Regions from separate parts of the Homo sapiens genome. Here all the other regions are linked to region 1. Evidence: promoter capture Hi-C in 16 types of primary human blood cells and fetal thymus (Javierre and others, 2016). All regions are on one chromosome and are shown on one strand. Each heading gives the region's core, a stretch centred on a gene start or on the middle of the fragment in contact. The rest is flanking DNA. Distances are from core to core; before and after follow the strand shown.

What was found. The method cuts DNA at HindIII sites, captures the fragments that hold promoters and counts their contacts. A CHiCAGO score of 5 or more calls a contact.
Region 2: a contact is called between the fragment with the promoter of FAM98C here and the fragment with the promoter of SIRT2 in region 1, in 12 of 17 cell types (naive CD4 T cells, activated CD4 T cells, naive CD8 T cells and 9 more). The highest score is 11.0, in naive CD4 T cells.
Region 3: a contact is called between a fragment that was not itself captured here and the fragment with the promoter of SIRT2 in region 1, in 4 of 17 cell types (non-activated CD4 T cells, total CD8 T cells, naive CD8 T cells and 1 more). The highest score is 7.3, in non-activated CD4 T cells.
Region 4: a contact is called between a fragment that was not itself captured here and the fragment with the promoter of SIRT2 in region 1, in 1 of 17 cell types (naive CD8 T cells). The highest score is 6.5, in naive CD8 T cells.
Region 5: a contact is called between a fragment that was not itself captured here and the fragment with the promoter of SIRT2 in region 1, in 12 of 17 cell types (total CD4 T cells, naive CD4 T cells, naive CD8 T cells and 9 more). The highest score is 9.1, in total CD4 T cells.
Region 6: a fragment that was not itself captured here is called in contact with the fragment with the promoter of SIRT2 in region 1 in 1 of 17 cell types (erythroblasts); the score reaches 5.1 in erythroblasts.
Region 7: the fragment with the promoter of MAP4K1 here is called in contact with the fragment with the promoter of SIRT2 in region 1 in 6 of 17 cell types (activated CD4 T cells, non-activated CD4 T cells, fetal thymus and 3 more); the score reaches 7.1 in activated CD4 T cells.

What each region holds. Positions count from the first base shown.
Region 1 is chr19:38,898,010-38,901,123 of GRCh38, reverse strand. It overlaps SIRT2 (sirtuin 2), which reads left to right and starts at 1,506. Exons shown (of 16, transcript NM_012237.4): 1 at 1,506-1,618; 2 at 2,699-2,745. The coding sequence starts at 1,603. NFKBIB (NFKB inhibitor beta) reads right to left here and starts at 1,155. Exons shown (of 6, transcript NM_002503.5): 1 at 913-1,155. The coding sequence starts at 1,091. The HindIII fragment of the contact is 23,515 bases long and covers 1-3,114 here.
Region 2 is chr19:38,401,654-38,404,767 of GRCh38, reverse strand. FAM98C (family with sequence similarity 98 member C) reads right to left here and starts at 1,675. Exons shown (of 8, transcript NM_174905.4): 1 at 1,550-1,675; 2 at 1,282-1,430; 3 at 1,074-1,208. The coding sequence starts at 1,614. RefSeq lists silencers at 1,169-1,368, 1,559-1,888. The HindIII fragment of the contact is 11,725 bases long and covers 1-2,727 here.
Region 3 is chr19:38,449,175-38,452,288 of GRCh38, reverse strand. It overlaps RYR1 (ryanodine receptor 1), which reads right to left. Exons shown (of 106, transcript NM_000540.3): 12 at 404-525. Among named protein-coding and RNA genes, the nearest start is that of RYR1, 17 kb to the right of the region's middle. The HindIII fragment of the contact is 175 bases long and covers 1,416-1,590 here.
Region 4 is chr19:38,518,951-38,522,064 of GRCh38, reverse strand. RYR1 (ryanodine receptor 1) reads right to left here. Exons shown (of 106, transcript NM_000540.3): 67 at 2,611-2,851. Among named protein-coding and RNA genes, the nearest start is that of MAP4K1-AS1, 76 kb to the left of the region's middle. The HindIII fragment of the contact is 7,673 bases long and covers 1-3,114 here.
Region 5 is chr19:38,539,441-38,542,554 of GRCh38, reverse strand. The region is part of intron 84 of RYR1 (ryanodine receptor 1); the gene reads right to left. Among named protein-coding and RNA genes, the nearest start is that of MAP4K1-AS1, 55 kb to the left of the region's middle. The HindIII fragment of the contact is 8,158 bases long and covers 1-3,114 here.
Region 6 is chr19:38,578,455-38,581,568 of GRCh38, reverse strand. It overlaps RYR1 (ryanodine receptor 1), which reads right to left. Exons shown (of 106, transcript NM_000540.3): 100 at 1,441-1,587; 101 at 1,065-1,199. Among named protein-coding and RNA genes, the nearest start is that of MAP4K1-AS1, 16 kb to the left of the region's middle. RefSeq lists an enhancer at 1,517-2,018. The HindIII fragment of the contact is 8,029 bases long and covers 1-3,114 here.
Region 7 is chr19:38,616,324-38,619,437 of GRCh38, reverse strand. MAP4K1 (mitogen-activated protein kinase kinase kinase kinase 1) reads left to right here and starts at 1,485. Exons shown (of 31, transcript NM_001042600.3): 1 at 1,485-1,641; 2 at 1,813-1,870; 3 at 1,994-2,084. The coding sequence starts at 1,543. It overlaps EIF3K (eukaryotic translation initiation factor 3 subunit K), which reads right to left and starts at 250. Exons shown (of 8, transcript NM_013234.4): 1 at 111-250. The coding sequence starts at 169. RefSeq lists an enhancer at 912-961. The HindIII fragment of the contact is 13,708 bases long and covers 483-3,114 here.

The sequences.
Region 1 (3,114 bases), core at 257-2,756:
ACCCAGTACAATCCCTCATCTGGGCCTTTGCAACTGCAGTTCCTTCTCCTTGAAATGCTCTTATCTTGTTTATCTATTGCCTCATTTTCCTGCTTTATTTTTCTCCAAAGTACTTAACTACCTCTGACTTTATTTCCTTTTCTTACTTTCTATGTTTCTTTCTTTCTGCGTGTCTTTCTTTGTTTCTTCCTGTCTTTCCATTTCTTTCCTTCCTTGTGGTCTTATCAATCTGTTTATTTAGCTCCACTAAAATGTATGCTCCACAAGGGCTTAAGTTTTTGTTTGTTTTCTTCACTGCCTTTATCACTAGCACCTAAACGGAGCCTGGAACGTGGTAATGTGTAAAGAATATTTGTTTAACAGATGAATCCTTGGTCTCATGGAGCTAACATTCTTTTTTTTAATTTTCCTATTTTTTTACTTTAATTAGGAATTCAACATAGAAGAGCTTACATTCTCTCTCTTTGAATTTAAGATTTGAAGAACACTGCTCAGAAGACAGGATCTTAGAGTCAGGGACCAAGTATTAATTTCGGAAATCAAACTCTAGGGCTCAAATCGGGAACTAAGAATCAAAGATCATATTTGGAGGTTAGAAGTCAGGAGAAGCCACAGTTCTAACAGAAGTCTCAGGACTGGAGTCAGGTTTGGGTATCAGTGGATACAATGTGGATTCCAGGAGCTGAGAATCATAGTTCAAGAAAAGAAGGTAAGAAATGATTGGGTTAGGATCATAGCTAGATAGAAGATTGGTTTTGTTAAAAGTTAGGACTCGGGGGTTAGAGGTCAGGAAGTTCAGCATCGGAAGTCAGATTTAGGAGTATGAGGTTAGGAAGCCTCAGGGATCAGAGATTAATGAGGAATGTGACGCCGGGTCCTAGGGCTCCGTTTGGCAGCCTAAGGTTCACTCACGTGTCCCCATCCTCAGTGACGTAGCCGAAGACGAGGGGAGCCCACGACAGCCCCGGGCCCAACTCCGCGCCCAACCCAGGTCCTCCGGGGGCCGCTGCGTCCGGACCCAGGGAGCCCAGGCCGCTGTCGCACCATTCATCTGCGTCGGCAGCTTTTCCCAAGCACGCGACCCCAGCCATGGCCCCCGCCGCCTCAGGGGCCCCCCGCAGTCGCCCGCCTGTAGCTGGGCTTTGCCGGGAGTTCTGGAGCTTCCGCCCTGCGGGAAATTCCCCACCACGCCCCCTGATTCACCCAATGATAATATGCTGAATCGCTCACACCCCGCCCTCGTACTGCATCCTGACCAATCAGAGTATTCGGGAGGACTACAACTCTCTAGCCGTTCCCACATTTTCCGGGCGCCCTTTACCAACATGGCTGCTGACGCCACGCCTTCTGGGACTCGTAGTCCGGTCCTCGCGCGCTTTCTTACCTAACTGGGGCGCTCTGGGTGTTGTACGAAAGCGCGTCTGCGGCCGCAATGTCTGCTGAGAGTTGTAGTTCTGTGCCCTATCACGGCCACTCCCATTTCTGGTGCCGTCACGGGACAGAGCAGTCGGTGACAGGACAGAGCAGTCGGTGACGGGACACAGTGGTTGGTGACGGGACAGAGCGGTCGGTGACAGCCTCAAGGGCTTCAGCACCGCGCCCATGGCAGAGCCAGACCGTGAGTCGGGGATCCGGGTAGGAGGGTCGGGCCGCGCCGGGGCCTGGCTGAATGCTGCAGGCCCCGGGGCCCAAGGGTGGCCGCGGTGGGGCGGGAAGTAGGGAGCGCTTCGGGGAGTGGGATTCTGAGGGCTGTTGCTTAGCGATCTGTATCGCTAGGCTGGTGGGTTTCTGGGTCGCAGTGTGTTCAGGGTTCGTTTACCACATCCACTTGCCAAGTTGCCAATGATCGCGTGTTTCTCGCACCTTGGTTGCTAAGGTCCCTCGCTGCAAAGAACATAAGTTGCCCCGGTCCCGCTTGCTATGGGTACCTGATTGTTAGAGGCAACCAGAGGATGCTGAGGGACCCCTGCTGACCCCTCCTATGGCTTCCCCTTGTTCCGCGCCTCTCCTAAACCTACCGCCTCCACTGCACCACTGCACCTCCCTCCTAAACCTGCCTCCCAGCCAAAGCGTCTCTTCCCTTCTCTTTTCCTTTCTAAACTTCCCTCTGCCTTGTAAATCTAACCCTCCCCGCACACACACTCACACACTGTCGTGTCCTTCCTAACTCCTCCTGAGTGTTCCTTCATGCCCTGAATCCCCTAGGTAGGAGGAGGAGGATCGCTTGAGCCCAGGAATTTGAGGCTGCAGTGAGCTATGATCGCACTATTGCACTCCAACCTGGGTGACATGAGCGAGACCCTTTCTCTAAAAAGTAAAAAAGAAAGAAAGTAAGTCAGGGCCAGAAACAATGGCTCATGCTTGTAATCCCAGTACTTTGGGAGGCCAAGGTGGTTGGATCGCTTGAGCCCAGGAGTTCAAGACCAGCCTGGGCAAAAGCCCCTACTTTCTCCCTGTCCCCCTAAATCTTCCTCTCCAGCCTCTCTGCCCCTCACTAATCACCTCTCCCGGCATCACTTTGCATGTAGATAAGATCTTTTCTCCGTCCCCTCCCTCCCTCTGCTCCATTTTTACCACCATCCCATCCCAGTGTAACTAGGTTGGTGGGTGTTCTTGCCCCCTCACTGACCATTTGAACCCCTTTATTCCCCCCTTAATCGTTCTCCCCACTGTAACCACCTCTGCTCCCCTCCCCCAGCCTCTCACCCTCTGGAGACCCAGGCAGGGAAGGTGCAGGAGGCTCAGGTGAGATGGGGGAAAGGGTGGAGGGGAGGAGAGAGACGGACTTGTTCCACATCCCACACTGGGGGGAGGTGGCAAAGGGGAAACAGTCACCCCAGGGCCCTCGGCTCATTGCCCCAATCCCTCACACCACCCAGTGCAGCTTTCTGGGGAAAGGCAGATTCTGGGGATTGTCAGAGAAGAGTTTCCAGCCTCAAGTCCAGGCCTGTCCTCCCAAACTTTCCTTCTTCCTTGCCACTGCCTGCCATCCCTTCTGAACCACATTTGTCCTGGGACTGGAAGAGACAGGTATCCCATTTGGTCTTGGAACGCACAGATCTCGTGGACAAGTGATGGGAAAAAATGATCTCACAGCGTGATGACGAAAGTAAC
Region 2 (3,114 bases), core at 426-2,925, 500 kb after region 1:
CACGAGGTCAGGAGATGGAGACCAGCCTGGCCAACATGGTGAAACTGTGTCTCTACTAAAAATACAAAAATTAGCAGGACATAGTGGTGAGTGCTTGTAATCCCAGCTACTCGGGAGGCTGAAGCAGGAAAATCGCTTGAACCAGGAAGTTGGAGGTTGCAGTGAGCTGAGATCATGTCACTGTACTCCAGCCTGGCAACAGGGCGAGACTCCATTTCAAAAAAAAAAGAGGCTCCACCGGCTTTAAAACCTCCACCTTTGCCCAGGCACAGTGGCTCATGCCTGTAGCCTGTAATCCCAACACCTTGGGAGGCTGAGGTGGGAGGATCGCTTGAAGCCAGGAGTTGAAGACCAGACAGGGCAACATAGGGAGACCCCACCTCCACTTAAAAACAAAACAAAACAAAATCCTCCACCTTCTAGTCCCCCCCACCTAAAGCCTTCCAGAGTAAGCCCCACCTTGAGACCCTGTCCCCTCCTACGAATTCCACTCCTGCCCACTTTGAAACCTCAAGCCTTCCTCCTAATCCAACCCACTTGAGCTCCTAGGCCCTCCAATTAAAATTCTAACCCCGGGCCGGGCGTGGTGGGCTCACGCCTGTAATCCCAACACTTTGGGAGGCCGAGGTGGACAGATCACCTGGGGTCAGGAGTTCGAGACCTGCCTGGCTAACATGGTGAAACCCCGTTTCTACTAAAAATAGCCGAGTGTGGTGTCGCGCGCCTGTAATCCCAGCTACTCGGGAGGCTGAGGCAAGAGAATCACTTGAACCTGGGAGGTGGAGGTTGCAGTGAGCCGAGATCACGCCACTGCACTCCAGCTTGGGTAACAAGAGTGAAACTCCATCTCAAAAATAATAATAATAAAATAAATAAAAAATAAAACGAAATTCTACCCCCGCCCATTTTAGAGCGCTCTGCTTGCCCCAACATGCTCACCCCACCCACCTCGTACCCTCTGGGCCGCCCCAAAGTTCTGACCACACCCCTTGGGAACCTCGATTTCCCCTAAAAAGTCAGAGCCCGCCGCTCCGGAGGCCATGGCCTTGCCACTTCTGCATCCCGGGACTCACGCAGCAGGCGCAGTCCGGCACCGGGTTCCCGAAGCGCAGCCGCGCCATCCCCGCCGCAGAGCGCGCGATCCGGGCAGTGCAGCTCCCGCAGCAGGCTGCCGAGCTGCCGCAGAAAGTCCTCCTCCGCGCCAGGGCCTGCGAGGACAGGGGTGTCAGGGCTCGGTGGCCCCGTGGCGGCCCCCCTGCCACCCTCCCGCTCCGTGTTTACCGTCGCCGGCGCTCAGCACCTCCGCGCCCGCCTCTCGCTGCTGCTCGAGGGCGCCCAGCGTCGCCAGCTCCGCCGCCAGCCGCACGCACAGCCCCCTGAAGTCTGGGCATGAGGCGCCCCGCGACGCCGCCCCCGGGACACCTCCATACCTGTGGGGACCGAGGCAGCGGGAGGGGGCGGGGATGTCACTGGGAATCCCTTTTCGTCCGCGTCCAGGGGGCAGACCTGGCCTTCCTGCACCCACCAGCCTCACCGCACACCCTTTTACCCCAGAGCCAGCAGGTCCTGGGCCACCGCGGCCCCCTCCCACGCTTCCGCCTTCACCGCCTCCATGAAAGTGTGGTCTCGGCGCGCCCCCTGGCGGCCGGTGGCAGGCTCCGCCCCAAAAGCGCCGCGCGCACGAGCTCCCCGCAGCGTCCGGCGGCACTGACCAATCGGCATCTTCCCGCGCAGGGGCTTGGGTGCTCCCATTGGCGCAGGAGGACGCCGAACCCGCCCCGGGGCCCGCCCGCCCCGCCCCTCGGCTAACCTGTCGGGGTTGTAGGAACGCCCCCTGGAGCTGTAAATTGCAGTGCGTTCGGGATCTCCGCTGTCAAGACAAGCTGGCGGCGGGTGTCACTGTTGCGGCGACATAAAAACAACTTCGGTGCCATTTTCCTTTTCCTCCCTCAGTTGTCTTCTGCTGGTGTTTTGTTGGTTTGTTTTTGAGGCAGATTTCGCTCTATCGTTCAGGCTGGACTGCAGTGGCGCCATCGCGGCTCACTGCAGTCTCGACCTTCTGGGCTCAAGAGATCCTCCCGCCTCAGCCTCCCAGCTAAATTTTTAAAAATCAGTCAGCCTTGGTGGCTTACACCTAGTAGCTGGGACCACAGGCGCAGACCACCGCGCCTGGCTGATTTGTTTTTAATTTTTTTGTAGAGACAAGGTTTCCTCATGTTGCCCAGCCTGGTTTCCAACTGCTGGGTTCAAGCGATCCGCCTGCCTCGGCCTCCCAAAGTGCTGGAATTACAGGCGTGAGCCACTGCAACCGGCCAATTTTTTTTTTTTTTTAAAGTTTTGTAGAGGCCGGGCACGGTGGCTCACGCATGTAATCCCAGCACTTTGGGAGGCTGAGGTGGGTGGATCACTTGAGGTCAGGAGTTCGAGACCAGCCTGGGCACATGGTGAAACCTCATCTCTAATAAAAATACAAAAATTAGCCGGGCGTGGTGGCACACGCCTGTAGTCACCACTATTTGGGAGGCTGAGGCAGGAGAATTGCTTGAGCCCGGGAGACACAGACTGCAGTGAGCCAAGATCGCGCCACTGCACTCCAGCCTGGGGACAGAGCAAGACTCCGTGTCAAAAAAGAAATAAAGTTTTGTAGAGAGGGGTCTAGCTATGTCGCCCAGGTTTGCCTCTAACTCCAGTGTTCAAGCAATCCTTCCCTCTCAGCCTTCCAAAGCTTGGGATTACAGGCTTGAGCCAGTGTTCCTGGCCCTGTCCTCTGCTCTTAAAGCAGCCCAGACGGAGTGGTGTTCACCCAACTCTGCCTAAAATCCAAAACTTCCTCCCTCCTTTCCACCTCAGGGTTTGAATTACATAAGGGACCCAGGAATCCCAGCACACCCCTCACACACCAGGCCCTCCTCATCGATCACGATGTGCCTGTTAGGCCTTCACTCCTCTCCCTCTTAGGCCTTGGAGTGAGCAGGTGCAATGCACCATAGTGGTTAAGAGATTACACCCTAGGAATCAGGCAAAGGGTTAGGGCTTGATTCTGTTACTCGCCAGCTCCATGTTCCTGCCAAATTGCTTCCCATCTGTATAATGGGGATAATAGTACCTACCTCT
Region 3 (3,114 bases), core at 254-2,753, 450 kb after region 1:
TTTGTTATTTTTTTTATAGAGACAGGGTTTCACTATATTGCTCAGGCTGGTCTCGAACTCCTGGGCTCAAGCGATCTGCCCGCCTCAGCCTCTCAAAGTGCTAGGATTACAGGCATGAGCCACTGTGCCCAGCCTAATTTTTTTTTTTTTTTTTTTTTTTTTGGTAGAGGCGGGGTCTCCCTATGCTGCCCAGGCTGGTCTCAAGCTCCTGGGCCCAAGCGATCCTCATGCCTTGCCCTCCCAAAGTCTTGGGATTACAGGTGTGAGCCACTGCGCTTGGCCCATGTATATGTTAGACAAGGGTGTGGGCAACAGAGGTAGAGATGAAAGAGGCCAAGTGTATGGATGCCCGGAGCATGGGACAGCACAGGAGTCACCCCAGCAGGGAGGGCAGGTTGCTCACTTGATGAACTGGTTGTATAGGCCATTGGTGCTGTGGATCATGCGGGCGGCCTGGGACTCCTCCTGCTGGCAGCGGGTCAGCGACAGTGCGTCGTCCATGTGGCCCTCCTGGTGCAGCATGGCCTAGGAGTGGGGAGACAGAGGTCTGGAGTGGGCCCAGCCACCCAGGGCCATGCCCCCAAGACGTCTGTCTAGACTTGAGTTCTGCACTTGCCCCCTCCTCCCTGCTCTGCAGAATCTCACTGCAAATTCCTCCTCATTTTTCTGTCCCCCGTCATCTGTCTCCTCTGTGTCTTTGATTCTCTCTCTCCTCTCTGTCTCTCTCTGTCCCTGTTTTTGGTTTTGTCTGTCTTTGTCTCTCTATCTCTCTCACCTCTGTCCCTGCCTCTCCCTCTCTATCTCTCTATCCCTATCTCCTTCCTGTCTCTGTCTCCAGGCCAGACCCTTTCCACCTGTACCTACTGCTGACTTAACATTCCCCCCGACCAGAAAGCTCTAACCCCCAAATTGAACCTGTCCCAGATAGAATGCCAGACCACCTTTCCACGAGGTGAGACCATCATGGCTGCCAGCTTCACCCCAAGCCGACCTCCCCAGAACTCATCCAGTCTGCGGCTGTAAACACCATCCACCTGCTGATGATGCTCACGTGTCCCCACTTTGGACATGGCCCAGGCCCCGTCTCTACGCCCTTGGCTCATGTATTCAACTACAGGCCTGTTTTTGCAAACGAGTGCCTCCCCAAGGATTCCTACTTGTCCATTCAGCAAGGCTGTAGTAAGTGGCTCTGTTCTAGGCACTGGCAGTAAAGCCTAAGATCCCTGTCCTTCTGAGCCAACACTGACTGTCCCCTAACTTGGTTGATGGCACTGATACAAGAGGTAGAAAAAAATTATTTAGGCAGAGAGTAAGGGCAACAGAGTCCTCGGCAGAGTTTCCTTTCTAACGGAAAGCAGCCCCCAAAATAATTTCTTTTCTAACAAAGAGCAGCCTGGAAAATCGAGCTACAAGCTTGCATGGGGGAATGTGCCGATAGAAAAGGTATACCTGGGGCTACGCATGTCCAACATGGAGGCTCCATCTTCCCTTTATTTAGTTATTTATTTATTTATTGTTTCCACGTTGTACAGAAAAGGAATGGGCAACATGGCCAGCTCAGGCAGAGGACCCGCTTGTACAATAAAAGCTTAGGGTGGAGGCAGCCAGAAATTTGTGCCCTATGCAAATGGCACAACTGGTCCAACCAGTCTTTTGCACCCTAGGTAAATCAGATACCACCTCCCCACCAGCTCATCTGTAAAGCCCCCTGCATTTCACCATGGAACCCCCTGCATTTCAACCCATTTTTCTGGGACCCTTCTCTGCAGTAGAGAGCTCCTTCTTTCGCCTATTAAATGTCCCCTCTTAACCTCACTCTTTGTGTGTCTGCGTCCTTGTTCTCTGTGGCTGTGAGACCACAAACCTTGGGTGATACTCCAGACAATGAGGCTGTTTCAGCACTTCCATCCTTCCAGTTGCTTGGGGCAAAAAATCATGGCATCATCCTCAACCCCTCCCCTTCTCTCACCCCACAGCCAATCTGTCAGCAAATCCTGTTGGCTCTACCCTCAGGACCCCACCAGAATCTACTACTCTTCCCAACTCCACAGTCCCCTCCTGGTCCTGTCCACTGTCATCTCCCATTTGTAACATCATGGCAGTCTCTTCTCTGGTCTCCCTGCTCTGGCTCTGTCCCCTGACCGTAGTCTGTTCCCAGAGACAGCCTAAGAATTCTGTGATCCTGCGTCAGGTCACTTCCCTGCCCTGCTCAAAATCTCCTGTGAGCCCATCTCACTCAGGATAAAAACTAGAACCTGGCCAGGAGCAGTGGCTCACACTTCACTTTAATCTCAGCACTTTGGGAGGCTGAGGCAGGAGGATCACTTGAGCCCCAGGAGTTTGAGACCAGCCTGTGTAATATAATGAGACCTCGTCTCTACAAAAAACAAACAAACAAACAAAACTAGACCTCTCCCATGGCCCACAAGGCCTCACACGAGCTGTTCCCATCCCCTCTCTTTCCTCACCAACCACTACTCCAGCCTGCTCACCCTGTTCCACACTGTGGCTTCTTTCTGCTACTGCAACAAGCCAAGCTCATGTTAACCTCAGGACCTTTGCACATGCTGTTCCTGCTGCCAAAAATAGTTTTCCCACTCCTTAATTGTAAAACTATGTACTTCACTAAAGGCAGTTTGTTCACAATTTCTGAGCACTGGGAGGGCAGGGAACAGGTCGCTACAGCTCATCTATTTTCTGCACACACAACCAGAACAACGCGGGTACTCAGTAATTGTTTGTTGAAAGTTATTCTCAGTTGGTCATTATCCATCTTTTTCTCACTCTCTCTGTTTTTGTTTTTGTTTTGTTTTGTTTTTGTTTTTCTGAGACGGAGTTTCACTCTTGTCAGCCAGGCTGGAGTGCAATGGCACGATATTGGCTCACTCCCAACCTCCACTTCCCAGGTTCAAGCAATTCTCCTGCCTCAGCCTCCTGAGTAGCTGGGATTACAGGCAGCTGCCACCACGCCTGGCTAATTTTTGTATTTTTAGTAGAGACAGGGTTTCACCATGTTGGCCAGGCTGGTCTCAAACTCCTGACCTCAGGTGATCCAACCGCCTGGGCCTCCCAAAGTGCTAGGATTACAGGCATGAGCCACCACGCCCGGCCGTG
Region 4 (3,114 bases), core at 324-2,823, 380 kb after region 1:
GAAAAATCATCCATATTCTAACTTCTAGGCTAAAAACTTTTTAAAATTTTTTCTTTCAGCTGGGCGCAGTGGCTCATGCCTGTAATCCCAGCACTTTGGGAGGCCGAGGCGGGCAGATCACGAGGTCAGGAGATCGAGACCATCCTGGCTAACACGGTGAAACCTCATCTCTACTAAAAAATACAAAAAAATTAGCCGGGTGTGGTGGCAGGCACCTGTGGTCCCAGCTACTCAGGAGGCTGAGGCAGGAGAATGGCGTGAACCCGGGAGGTGGAGCTTGCAGTGAGCAGAGATCGCACCACTGCACCCCAGCCTGGGCGAGACTCCATCTCAAAAAAAAAAAAAAAAATTTTCTTTTTTTCTTTTTTGAGACAGGGTCTCGCTCTGTCGCCCAGGCTGGAGTGCAGTGGTGTGATCTCAGCTCACTGCAACTTCTGCCTCCCAGGTTCCAAGTGATTCTCCTGCCTCAGCCTCCCACTCAGGAGTACTTAGCTGGGACTACAGGTATGCGCCACCACGCCCGGCTAATTTTTGTATTTTCAGTAGAGACAGGGTTTTTGCATGTTGCCCAGGCTGGTCTCAAACTTCTGAGTTTGAGACTGAGTTTGAGTGATCCACTCTCTTTGGCCACCCAAAGTGCTGGGATTACAGTCACGAGCCACTGCACCCAGCATAAAATTTCTTTTTTTTTTGAGACAGGGTCAGAATCTAAGTAGGTTCACATATTTTATTTTATTCATTTACTTGTATTAAAAAAAAACAAACCTTATTGAGACAGGGTCTATCTCTGTTGCCCAGGTTGGAGTGCAGCGGTGTGATCATAGCTCACTGCAGCTTTGACCTCCTGGGCTCAAACGATCCTCCCACCTCAGCCTCCCAGTCCCAGCCTGAGGCAAGGACTACAGGTGTGTGTCACCATGCCTGACTAATTTTTGTATTTCTTTTCTTTTTTTGTAGAGACAGGGTCTAGCCATGTTGCCTAGGCTGGTCTCAAATTCCTGAGCTCAAGTGATCCTCCCGCCTCAGTCTCTCAAAGTGCTGGGATTACAGTTGTAAGCCACTGCACCCGGCCCCAAACTTATTCTTATCTGCTCGTGAACATTAAACAGATGGTAAAATATGTAGTTTATTTCTTGGTTTTCTGGCTTCTTTCATTCCACCTAACATTTGTGAAAGCCAATCACATTGTGCATAGAAACAACTTGTTCACTCCCACTGCCGTGGAGTCTTCTGTTGTATGAATAAACCACAATTTGTTCATATTTACTGATTGAAAAATTGAACTATATCCAACAGCAGAGAATGTCACACGACCACCAAGACAAAAGAGGTGAATCTATACATCTTTTTTTTTTTTTTTTTTTTTTTTTTGAGGTGGAGCCTCGCTCTGTTCCTAGGCTGGAGTGCAGTGACACGATCTCAGCTCAGTGCAACCTCTGCCTCCCAGGCTCAGGCGATTCTCCTGCTTCAGCCTCTGGAGTAGCTGGGATTTCAAGCCTGCGTCACTACGCCTGGCTAATTTTTGTATTCATAATAGAGACAGGGTTTCGCCACGTTGGCCAGGCTGGTCTCAAACACCTGACCTCAGGTGATCTGCCCACCTCGGCCTCCCAAAGTGCTGGGATTACAGGCATGAGCCACCACACCCGGCCTATATGTCTTTCATGGTGTATTGTTGTGTTAAAAAAAAAAAAAAAGCAGCTAAGTGTGGTGGCTCACTTCTGTAATCCCAACACTTTGGGAGGCTGAGGTGGGAGGATCACTTGACCCCGGGAATTCAAGACCAACCTGGGCAACATAGTGAGACCCCATAAAAATACAAGAATTAGCCGAGCATGTTGGTGTGAGTCTATAATCCCAGCTACTCAGGGGCAGAAGCAGAGGATCGCTTGAACCCAGGAACCGAGGCTGCAGCAAGCCATGATCATGCCACAGCACTCCAGCCTGGGCAACAGAGAGAGACCCTGTCTCAATAAAAAAAAAAAAAAAAAAAGCAAACTATTCCTTACGGTGTTGTGCATAGTGACAAAGAAATCGACACAATCTAAATGTCCAGCATTAGGAGAATGATTTAAAAAAAATCACACTGGCCAGCTGCATTGGCTCACAGCTGTAATCCCAGCACTTTGGGAGGCCGAGGCAGGCAAATCATGAGGTCAAGAGTTCAAGACCAGCCTGGCCAACATGGTGAAAATCTGTCTCTACTAAAAATACGAAACTTAGCTGGGCGTGGTGGCATGCACCTGTAATCCTAGCTACTGGGAAGGCTGAGGCAGGAGAATCACTTGAACCCGGGAGGTGGAGGTTACAGTGAGCCGAGATCGCGCCACTGCATTCCAGCCTGGGCAATAAAGCGAGGCTCTGTCTCCAAAAACAAAAACAAACAAAAAAAAACCCAAAAACCAAAAACAAAAAGAAACAAACAAGTGGGCTGGCTGTCGTTGGACCAATGTGCTCAAAGCCAGAAGAAACCAGGAGGAAGAGTCAGAAGGTTGGTGGGGCCAGAGCATTGGAAGAAGTTTCTAGCCAGTCAGGAGGCGGAGATCAGATGGGGCTGGAGGACGTGGGAGGTCGGGGCGGAGGGCATGGGGACAGCGGGGCCCCGCTGACCTGTTGTTGTCCACGTAGCGGATGAGCAGCGGATACAGGGCGTAGAGGTCCCGGCAGAGCACAGAGAACTCGTCCCGCACCAGCAGCTCGCCCTCCTGGGCCTCCGCCTTGGCCTCCAGGCGCAGCTGCTCCTCCTCGGACACCACCTTCCCTGCCCTCTTGCGCAGCCGCCCGATAGTTGGGATGAAGTGGGACTGCAGGAGCTCCGGCCGTGCACGGCTCACAATGGGCTGTGCGAACACTGCAGGGGTGCGATGGGCTCTGATGCCACCTCCGGCCTCTGACACAGGCCCCAAACTCCGTTCCCAGCCCGACTCCCAAACAGCATCTCCAACCTAGCAGCTGCCATTTGACCCCAGCCTGACCCTAACCTTGGATATAGTCCCTGAACACTGATCCCAGCCATAGCCCCTAACCTGAACCTAAGACCCAGTCCCTATCCTGTGACCCCAGCCTGGCACAAATCCCTGACCTCTGACCCCCAACAACAGACGCCTCACCTGT
Region 5 (3,114 bases), core at 224-2,723, 360 kb after region 1:
AAGAGTGAAACTCCGTCTCAAAAAATAAATAAATATAAAAAAATAAAATATAAATATTATTGAGGGCCTGCTATGTGTCAAATGTGGTGGAGCGTCATTTATTCATTCAGTTTTTTCCAACAAATTTGTATATTGACCACCAACTATGTAGCAGGGAGAAATAGAGATTCAGTTCCTCGTTAGTTTCCAAACAATTTTATCAAATTCCTCCTATGTGCTGGGGATATTCATGCATTTATCCAACAAATATTTATTGAGCACCTACTAAAGGCCAGGGAACATATGGATTGGTCACTTGTTCATTTATTCAACATATTTTATTGAGTGTATACTACATCCTCACGAGATTAAGATTGTCACATCCTCTTTGCTACAACAAATTTGTTGCGTTCTTACTATGTGTCATGCAGTATTCTAGGCTCTGGGGATACAGTAGTAAAAAAAAAAAAAACAGTCCCCGGCCTTGGGGGGGATTTTTTTTTTTTTTTGACAAGGTCTCCCTCTGTTGCCTAGGTTGGAGTACTGTGGCATGATCATAGCTCACTGCAGCCTTGACCTCCTGGGTTCAAGTGGTCCTCCCACCTCAGCCTCCCAGGTAGCTGGAACTATAGGTGTGAGCCACCACATCCGGCCAATTTTTAATTTTTTTGTTGAGACCAGCCCAGGCTGGTCTCGAACTCCTGGCCTCAAGCAACCCTCCTACCTTGACCTCCCATAGTGCTGGGATTACAGACATGAGCCGTATGTCCAGCCCCTGCCCTTGTGAAGTTTATATTCTTGTGCAGTAATTTTTTAATCTTTTCTGACTGCAATCTATGGTAGGAAATCCTTTTTTTTTTGAGATACAGTCTTGCTCTGTCACCCAGGCTGGAGTGCAGTGGCATGATCTCAGTTCACTGCAAACTCTGCCTCCCAGGTTCAAGCAATTCTCCTGCCTCAGCCTCCTGAGTAGCTGGGATTACAGGCATGCGCCACCACGCCCGGCTAATTTTTTTGCATTTTTAGTAGAGACAGGGTTTCACCATATTGGACAGGCTGGTCTCCAACTCCTGACCTTGTGATCCACCTGCCTCGGCCTCCCAAAGTGCTGGGATTACAGGTGTAAGCCACCACACCCAGCCGAGGAAATCCTTTTTACATTGAGACCTGATACATGTGTTCAATCTGAAATTATATTCACCTATTCCCGAAAGAGAAGTTTCACATTGCCTTACTCTGTGCCATGCATTCTGTTCTTTTCTGTCCTGTACTGCTCTAGTTAACTACAAAAGAAGAAGTGTGTGCTTCTCATCCTCTCAACCTTGGCTGCACATCAGGACAACTAGGAGGCTTTTAAAAACCCCAGTGCTCAGGCCCAACCCCAGATCAATTGAATTAGAACCTGTAAAGGCAAAACCTGGGCTTAAGTCTCTTTTAAAGCTCCCCAGGCATGCCAGTGTACAATTACAATGAGAACCTCTGCGTGAAACTGATTCATGAACGTCTGTCTGATGGGTTGGTTCCCACTATTTAAAAAACATTGTTCTGTGAAAGCAAACTGTTAAAGCTGAGTGATGGGTAGTTGGGGGTTTATTATACTGTAATATATGATTGGAGGTTTATTACACTGTAGTATATGATTGGAGGTTTATTACACTGTAGTATATGATTGGAGGTTTATTACACTGTAGTATATGATTGGAGGTTTATTACACTGTAGTATATGATTGGAGGTTTATTACACTGTAGTATATGATTGGAGGTTTATTACACTTTAGTATATGATTGGAGGTTTATTACACTGTAGTATATGATTGGAGGTTTATTACACTGTAGTATATGATTGGAGGTTTATTACACTGTAGTATATGATTGGAGGTTTATTACACTGTAGTATATGATTGGAGGTTTATTACACTGTAGTATATGATTGGAGGTTTATTACACTGTAGTATATGATTGGAGGTTTATTACACTGTAGTATATGATTGGAGATTTATTACACTGTAGTATATGATTGGAGGTTTATTACACTGTAGTATATGATTGGAGGTTTATTACACTGTAGTATATGATTGGAGGTTTATTATACTGTAGTATATGATTGGAGGTTTATTATACTGTAGTATATGATTGGAGGTTTATTATACTGTAGTATATGATTGGAGGTTTATTATACTGTAGTATATGATTGGAGGTTTATTATACTGTAGTATATGATTGGAGGTTTATTATACTGTAGTATATGATTTTTTTTTTTTTTGGTAGAGACAGGGTCTCCTTATGTTGCCCAGACTTGTCTTGAACTGCTGGGCTCAAGTGATCCTCCTGCCTCAGCCTCCTAAAGTGCTGGGATTACAGGCATGAGCCACAGTGCCCAGCCAAGTCCTTTTAAATGTTTATAGCAACATCATGTTGCACAGGAAGGTTTTAACAGCCCCTGAAAGTATTTTTGCCCCCCGTTTTTCTTTCCCCTTAACTTTTTTACAGTCAGTTCACAATTGCTCTATCAGGTTGGCTCAACAGAAGGCCCATTTTGCCTAGTTTCATGACATAGACAAAGCATACTCAAATATTCAAAATTTTATAAGCAAAGGTACAGGTTTTCCCATCAACCCTGCTTTCTAACTCCTTTATTTGTGTTAATTTAAATTGTTAAATTAAATTGTGTTAATTTAAATTGGGCTATATGCAAAAATAAAAGATACACAGCTCCTGTAAAAAAAATTCTGGCAACTGACAACACCTGTTATAGACATGTGCAAATAAGTGAGAGACAAACCTTTTGTCTGCTTTGAATAGCACTGACTCCTCAAGACATGCAAGGGGTCTGAGATTTGAAAGATATTTCAAATATCTATTTGATTAGGTCATGAATTTAGGCGAGGACTGGGTTGCAAATATGTTGGGAGACAGCAATCCCTTTCATAACAACATTCTCATTTTCAAAACTTCATATTCCTGAGGAATAAAATTTATTTTAAACCCAAAGACTGATTCCATCTTAGTTAAAATTAAAGAATGAAAATCTTAGTCCCGGCTGGGTATGGTGGCTCACACCTGTAATCCCAGCATTTTAGGAGGCCAAGGCAGGAGGATTGCTTGAATCCAGGAGTTTGAGATCCCCTGGGCAAC
Region 6 (3,114 bases), core at 183-2,682, 320 kb after region 1:
GGCGAAGAGGTGTGGAGCACTCATATGCCTGGCACTGTTCAAAGTATCTGACATGGCCAGGTGCGGCGGCTCACACCTGTAATCCCAGCACTTTGGGAGGCCGAGGTGGGCAGATCACGACGGCACAGGCAGAGATGGAGACCATCCTGGCCAACATGGTGAAACTCCGTCTCTACTAAGAATACAAAAATTGGCCGGGCGCAGTGGCTCATGCCTGTAATCCCAGCACTTTGGGAGGCCCAGGCGGGCGGATCACCAGGTCAGGAGATCGAGACCATCCTGGCTAACATGGTGAAACCCCGGCTCTACTAAAAATACAAAAAATTTGCCAGGCGTGGTGGCGGGCGCCTGTTGTCCCAGCTACTCGGGAGGCAGAGGCAGGAGAATGGCATGAACCCGGGAGGCGGAGCTTGCAGTGAGCTGAGATCACGCCACTGCACTCCAGCCTGGGCCAGACTCTGTCTCAAAAAAAAAAGAAAGAAAGAAAATTAAGAATACAAAAAGTATCTGGGTGTGGTGGCATGCGCCTGTAGTCCCAGCTACTTGGGAGGCTGAGGCAGGAGAATCACTTGAACCCAGGAAGCGGAGGTTGCAGTGAGCTGAGATTGCGCCACTGCACTCTAGCCTGGCAACACAGTGAGACTCCATCTCAAAAAAAAAAAAAAAAAATGTGCCTGGCATGCATCAGCTTGCCAAACTGTAGGTACTATTTTCATTTTTTAGAGATAGGGTCTCTGTCTGTCTGCCAGGATGGAGTGTAGTGGCCCATTCGTAGCTCACTAAAGCCTCAAACTGCTGGGACCAAGTGATCCTCTTGCCTTAGCCTCCAGGCACACAACACAACACCCAGCTAACGTTTAAATTTTTTTTTATAGAGACAGGATTTTTGCTTTGTTGCCCAGGCTGGTTTCCAACTCCTGGACTCAAGTAATCGTCCCGCCTCGGCCTCCCGACGCACTGGGATTGCAGGCTGGAGGCACCACGCCCGGCCTGGAGGTACCATTATTAACTCCTTCAACAGATGCGAGAAGGAAGGGTCCCAGAGTGCTAGGGGAGGGGCTCACCGTCATCATGTCATCACACTTCATGTCAGGTTCATCCTCATCCTCGCTCTTGTTGTAGAACTTGCGGAAGAAGTTGAAGGCCACCACGGTGTACAGGTAGACGACCACCGCCAGAAGGCCCACGGTCATCACCAGCTGGGGGCAGGATGGGGCCAGGTCAGCTCCGCCCTGGGCTTGCCCTCCCCCCACCCTGCCCATGCTGGGTCCTGGCCCCGGTTCAGTCCCTGTGGCTCTACCTTGCTGCCCCACACACCCCCGGCTCAGCGCACCTGGCCTTGCCCCTCCTCAGCCCAGCTGCCCGGCCCTTATCCCTTCACCACCCACTGCCACGCTGGTCCCTGCTGGCCCACGCCCCACAGCCAGGTCCTCCCCACACCTGTTTCCCATTGTGGGTGACAGAGGACAGGATGGTGCGCAGCGTCTTGACCCCCATGGCGATGTCCAGGAGATGGGCAGCAAAGAAGAAGTTGTTGTAGTGTCCCAAGAGGGACATCACCATATACCAGCCCAGGTACAGGAAGGACTGTGGGCACACAGGGCCAGGGGTCAGGGGGAAGGCAGGGACACACGAGGAGCACTCTGGAGGGTAGGGGCCACTCGAGAGTCAGCTGTGCCCTGGGGGTCGGGTGCCAGCTCTGTTTGGGGAGTACATGGAGGATCAGGGCATTCCGGGTGAGAAGGCATCCTGCGGGGAGATGAGAGCCCCCTCCAGAAGGAAATAATCTGGCAATCTAAGGGCACACTGAGGGAGCCAAAGGATGTTCTGGGCCGGGTGTGGTGGCTCATGCCTGTATCCCCAGTGCTTTGGGGGGCTGAGGCAGGAGCATCACTTGAGGTCAGGAGTTGAAGACCAGTCTGGGCAACATAGCGAGACTCCATCATCTCTTCCTCTGTCTTTTTTTTTTTTTTTTTTTGAGATGGAGTTTCACACTTGTCACCCAGGCTGGAATGCTATGGCGCAATCTCAGCTCACTGCAACCTCCGCCTCTCAGGTTCAAGTGAAGGAGGCTAAGCCTGCCAAGTAGCTGAGACCACAGGTGTGGGTAACCACACCCAGCTAATTTTTTTTTTTTTTTTTTTGAGATGGAGTCTTAGTCTGTTGCCCAGGCTGGAGTGCAGTGTTGCAATCTCAGCTCACTGCAACCTCCGCCTCCCGGGTTCAAGCGATTCTCCTGCCTTAGCCTCCAAAGTAGCTGGGACCACAGGCGTGGGTCACCACACCCAGCTAATTTTTGTATTTTTAGTAGAGATGGGTTTCACCATGATGGCCAGGCTGGTCTCTAACTCCTGGCCTCAAGTGATCCACCCACCTCGGCCTCCCAACCCAAAGTGCTGGGATTACAGGCCTGAGCCACCGCACCTGGCCACTCTCTGTTTTTTGTTAGAGACAGGGTCTCGCTCTGTTATCCACGCTGGAGTGCAGTGGTGCACATGCAGCTCACTGAAACCTCTGCCTCCTGGGCTCAAGCCATCCTCCCACCGCAGCTTGTTGAGTGGCTGGGACTACAGGTGTGCACCACCACGCCTGGCTAATTTTTGTATTGTTTGTAGAGACAGGGTTTCACCGTCTCTACAAAAGTTGCCCAAGCTGGTCTTAAACGTTTGAGCTCAAGCAAACCTCTGCCTCCGCCTCCCAAAGTGCTGGGATTATAGGCCTGAGCCACTGTGCCTGTCTGCCTGGCTAATTTTTTGTGTTTTTGTTGTTGTTGTTGTTGAGATGGATTCTCATTCTGTCGCCCAGGCTGGAGTGCAGTGGTGCGATCTTGGCTCACTGCAGCCTCCACCTCCTGGATTCAAGCCATTCTCCTGCCTCAGCCTCCTGAGTAGCTGGGATTACAGGCACCTGCTGCCATGCCCAGTGCCAGGTTTGTCTTGAACTCCTGACCTCAAGTGATCTGCCTGCCTCGGCCTCCCAAAGTGCTGGGACTACAGGCGTAAGCCAGCACGCCCAGCCCCAGCTAATTTTTAAATTTTCTGTAGAGAGAGGATCTCACTATATTGCCCAGGCTGGTCTCAAACTCTGGGCTCCAGTGATCCACCAGCCTTGGCT
Region 7 (3,114 bases), core at 236-2,735, 280 kb after region 1:
GAAACCCCACCCCGCGGCAAGCCCAGGACCCTGAACACCCCTTGCTGTCTCCGGAAAACCCTCTCCTCCGCCCCGCTTGGCCAGAGCGCTTCCTCCAACCGGGCTCAGACCTGTCGATACCCTTGAGCAACTTGCCCACGTTGGCTCTCATCTGCTCAAACATCGCCATGACTTCTGTCGCCTTCCACAACCAGGGCTGGAGGCTAACACTGACCCGGCACGGCGTCCTCAAGGACGGGAACAGGAAGAGGTGGTGGAAACGGAAACGACGTCGTTGTTGTCGCTCCAGCTCCTTGGGTGCGGTAAAGGGAAAGGCTCTAGCAGCAGCCGCCACGCTTTCCGGCTGCCACGTGACTTCTTCCTCGCAGGCGCAATTGGCGCGTGCGCATTCGCGCCACTCAAGCTGGACAGACAGCGTGAGAAAAATCTTACTGGATCCCAGTGCGCAGGCGCCTCTCGTGGCGAGGGGGCGGGGCTAAGCTTTTCCCGGGCCTCACAGACCCAGTTCCAGTGCCGGTAGCGCGGGAGCGTGCGCGCGCGAACTCACCGGGAAGCACCCGGAGCTCTGGCGGCGTGCGCGCGCGTTGTATTGCGCGCGGCCATGAGGCCACGGAGCTCTGCGGGAATGCACGCAGCAGCCTTACGTTTAGGCCATGGCCAAGTTCCGAGGGAGGTGTTCTGAGGTCCCTCTTGCCACAGGCCTGGGCGCCTGGTGCAGGATCCTGAGCTCTCCAGTTTCAAGTCTCAGCCCTTGGTCCCCAGCTCCAGGAGGAGGGTCCCACAAAGCTACTGTGCTCTGCCGGGCAGGGGCTGGGGTGAGGGCTCCTGGACTTCGCCGGATCGCGCCCCGTCTCCATTAGGTTCCGGTCTTGGAGCTGAGGGCGAGCGTCCCATTTGTACTGCCATGAATTATATATTATGTATAGGTTTTGTACACTGCAGGCCTACAAAATGCAGTTATGTGCCATGCATGTGGAGGTATATGTCCTGGGTACATCCACGTGTGTACTGTGCACACAGGTATCCAGGCAGATGCACGTCTACACGCCTGCGCAGTGCAGAGGAGGTAACCCAAGTGCATGTATGTGACAGGTGAACAGGCATGTACACTGCATAGCCATCCCTTTGCAGACCTGCCGCCTTCGGGTTGTGGCCAAACCTTCAAGCACCCAGCAGAGGTTTAGACACTACCTAGGAGACGGGGGCGGGGGTTCTAAGGCACCCCCCTCCAACCCAGTTACGATTAAGATCATTTGCATCACATTTACATCCAGCCCTGGGCCTTGGAGGTTGAGGGTGGTCCCTTGGGTCCCAAGACAAGCTGCCCCTCAGAGGCTCTCAGAGCCCAGGGGACGGGGGGGTGGAGCCCGTTGCACAGTCGTGCAGTGCAGCTGGGGCAGGAAGCGAGAGTGAGGAGGGGGGAGGCCACAGCCCGCGGAGGCAAGGCGGGTGCAGGGCTTCTGGGGACGGAGGGAGGTGCCAGAAGTTGAGCCCTGAGGCCCTGCTGGCCCCTGGGCGCAGGCCCAGCTCAGGCCCCCAGGGATGGACGTCGTGGACCCTGACATTTTCAATAGAGACCCCCGGGACCACTATGACCTGCTACAGCGGCTGGGTGGCGGCACGTATGGGGAAGTCTTTAAGGTGAGGAAGCCCCTCTGTCCCCAACACCCTACAACCAGTGACCTTTAAGGCAAGCCCTCGGCAGGGAGGAGGCTGCAAGAGGGGGTCCCAGTTCTTGACCTTGACTCAGGGATGCTGTGGAGGGACTCTGGCAAATGGAGCCTGCCTGACTGCCAACTTCCCCTTTGCAAGGCTCGAGACAAGGTGTCAGGGGACCTGGTGGCACTGAAGATGGTGAAGATGGAGCCTGGTGAGGAGGGAACATGGAGCTCCTTCCCCACATCCCCACCTTCGCCTCCTGGGACACTGGGATCACCTCCCCTGTAGCTCTCTCCCCATGCGAGCTGCCTTTTCTCTCCCGCCCTCCTCACAGATGATGATGTCTCCACCCTTCAGAAGGAAATCCTCATATTGAAAACTTGCCGGCACGCCAACATCGTGGCCTACCATGGGAGTTATCTCTGGTGATGAACCTCAGACCCACCCTGGCACCCAGCCCAGCCCCTAACCCGGAGTCCCCATTTCTTGATGGGGGTACCCTCAGTTCTTTTTTTTTCTTTTCTTTTTCTTTTTTGAGATGGAGTCTTGTTCTGTTGCCAGGCTGGAGTGCAGTGGCATGATCTCAGCTCACTGCAACCTCTGCCTCCTGGGTTCAAGCAATTCTCTGCCTCAGACTCCCGAGTAGCTGGGATTACAGGCGCTCACCACCCTGCCCGGCAAATTTTTGTATTTTTAGTAGAGATGGGGTTTCACCATCTTGGCCAGGCTGGTCTTGAACTCCTGACCTTGTGATCCACTCGCCTCGGCCTCCGAAAGTGCTGGGATTACAGGTGTGATCCACCGCGCCTGGTCTTGGCACCCTCAGTTCTAACCTTGAACTTCCATTTCTCACCATAACCCGACCTCCCATCCTGGACCCCCATTTTTGACTGGGCTAACCCTACCATGATCCTCACTCCTAAGTCCCACTTTTCTGACCAGAGCAGCCTCTAATCTAATCTCCAATCTAAAATTCCCATTTCTGACCAAGAGTACCCCAAATTGATCTCTTCATAGTAACTGAATTTGAAATCAACTCCCTTGAAACGAAGCTCTCACCATTCTGCTCTTTGGCTCACCCAGTTTCACTCTCTGCTCCTTTAATATAAACTCCTAAATTCCCTGATCCCCAAATTAATATTCCAGATGCCCCAATAATGACCTCTGCTCCCCAGAACAGGTGCCCTGGGCCCCTCTGTCCCCTCCAAATCTCCACAACCCGTGAGATCTCTGCCCTGCCTCCTAGGTTGGCGTGGGACGGCAGTGGGGTCCCGCCCAAAGGCCTAGGTTTGAGTTGACTTGCCCCGGAACTCACATTTCCTCTCTGAGCCTTAACTTCCTTGTCTGTAAAATGGGAATGAAACAACCTCACTCTGGTAGACAAGGAGAGGTGGAGTGATGAGAGCTGTTACGTTAAAGTTCTTATTGAACTAGAACAAGACAGAAGCAAACCAG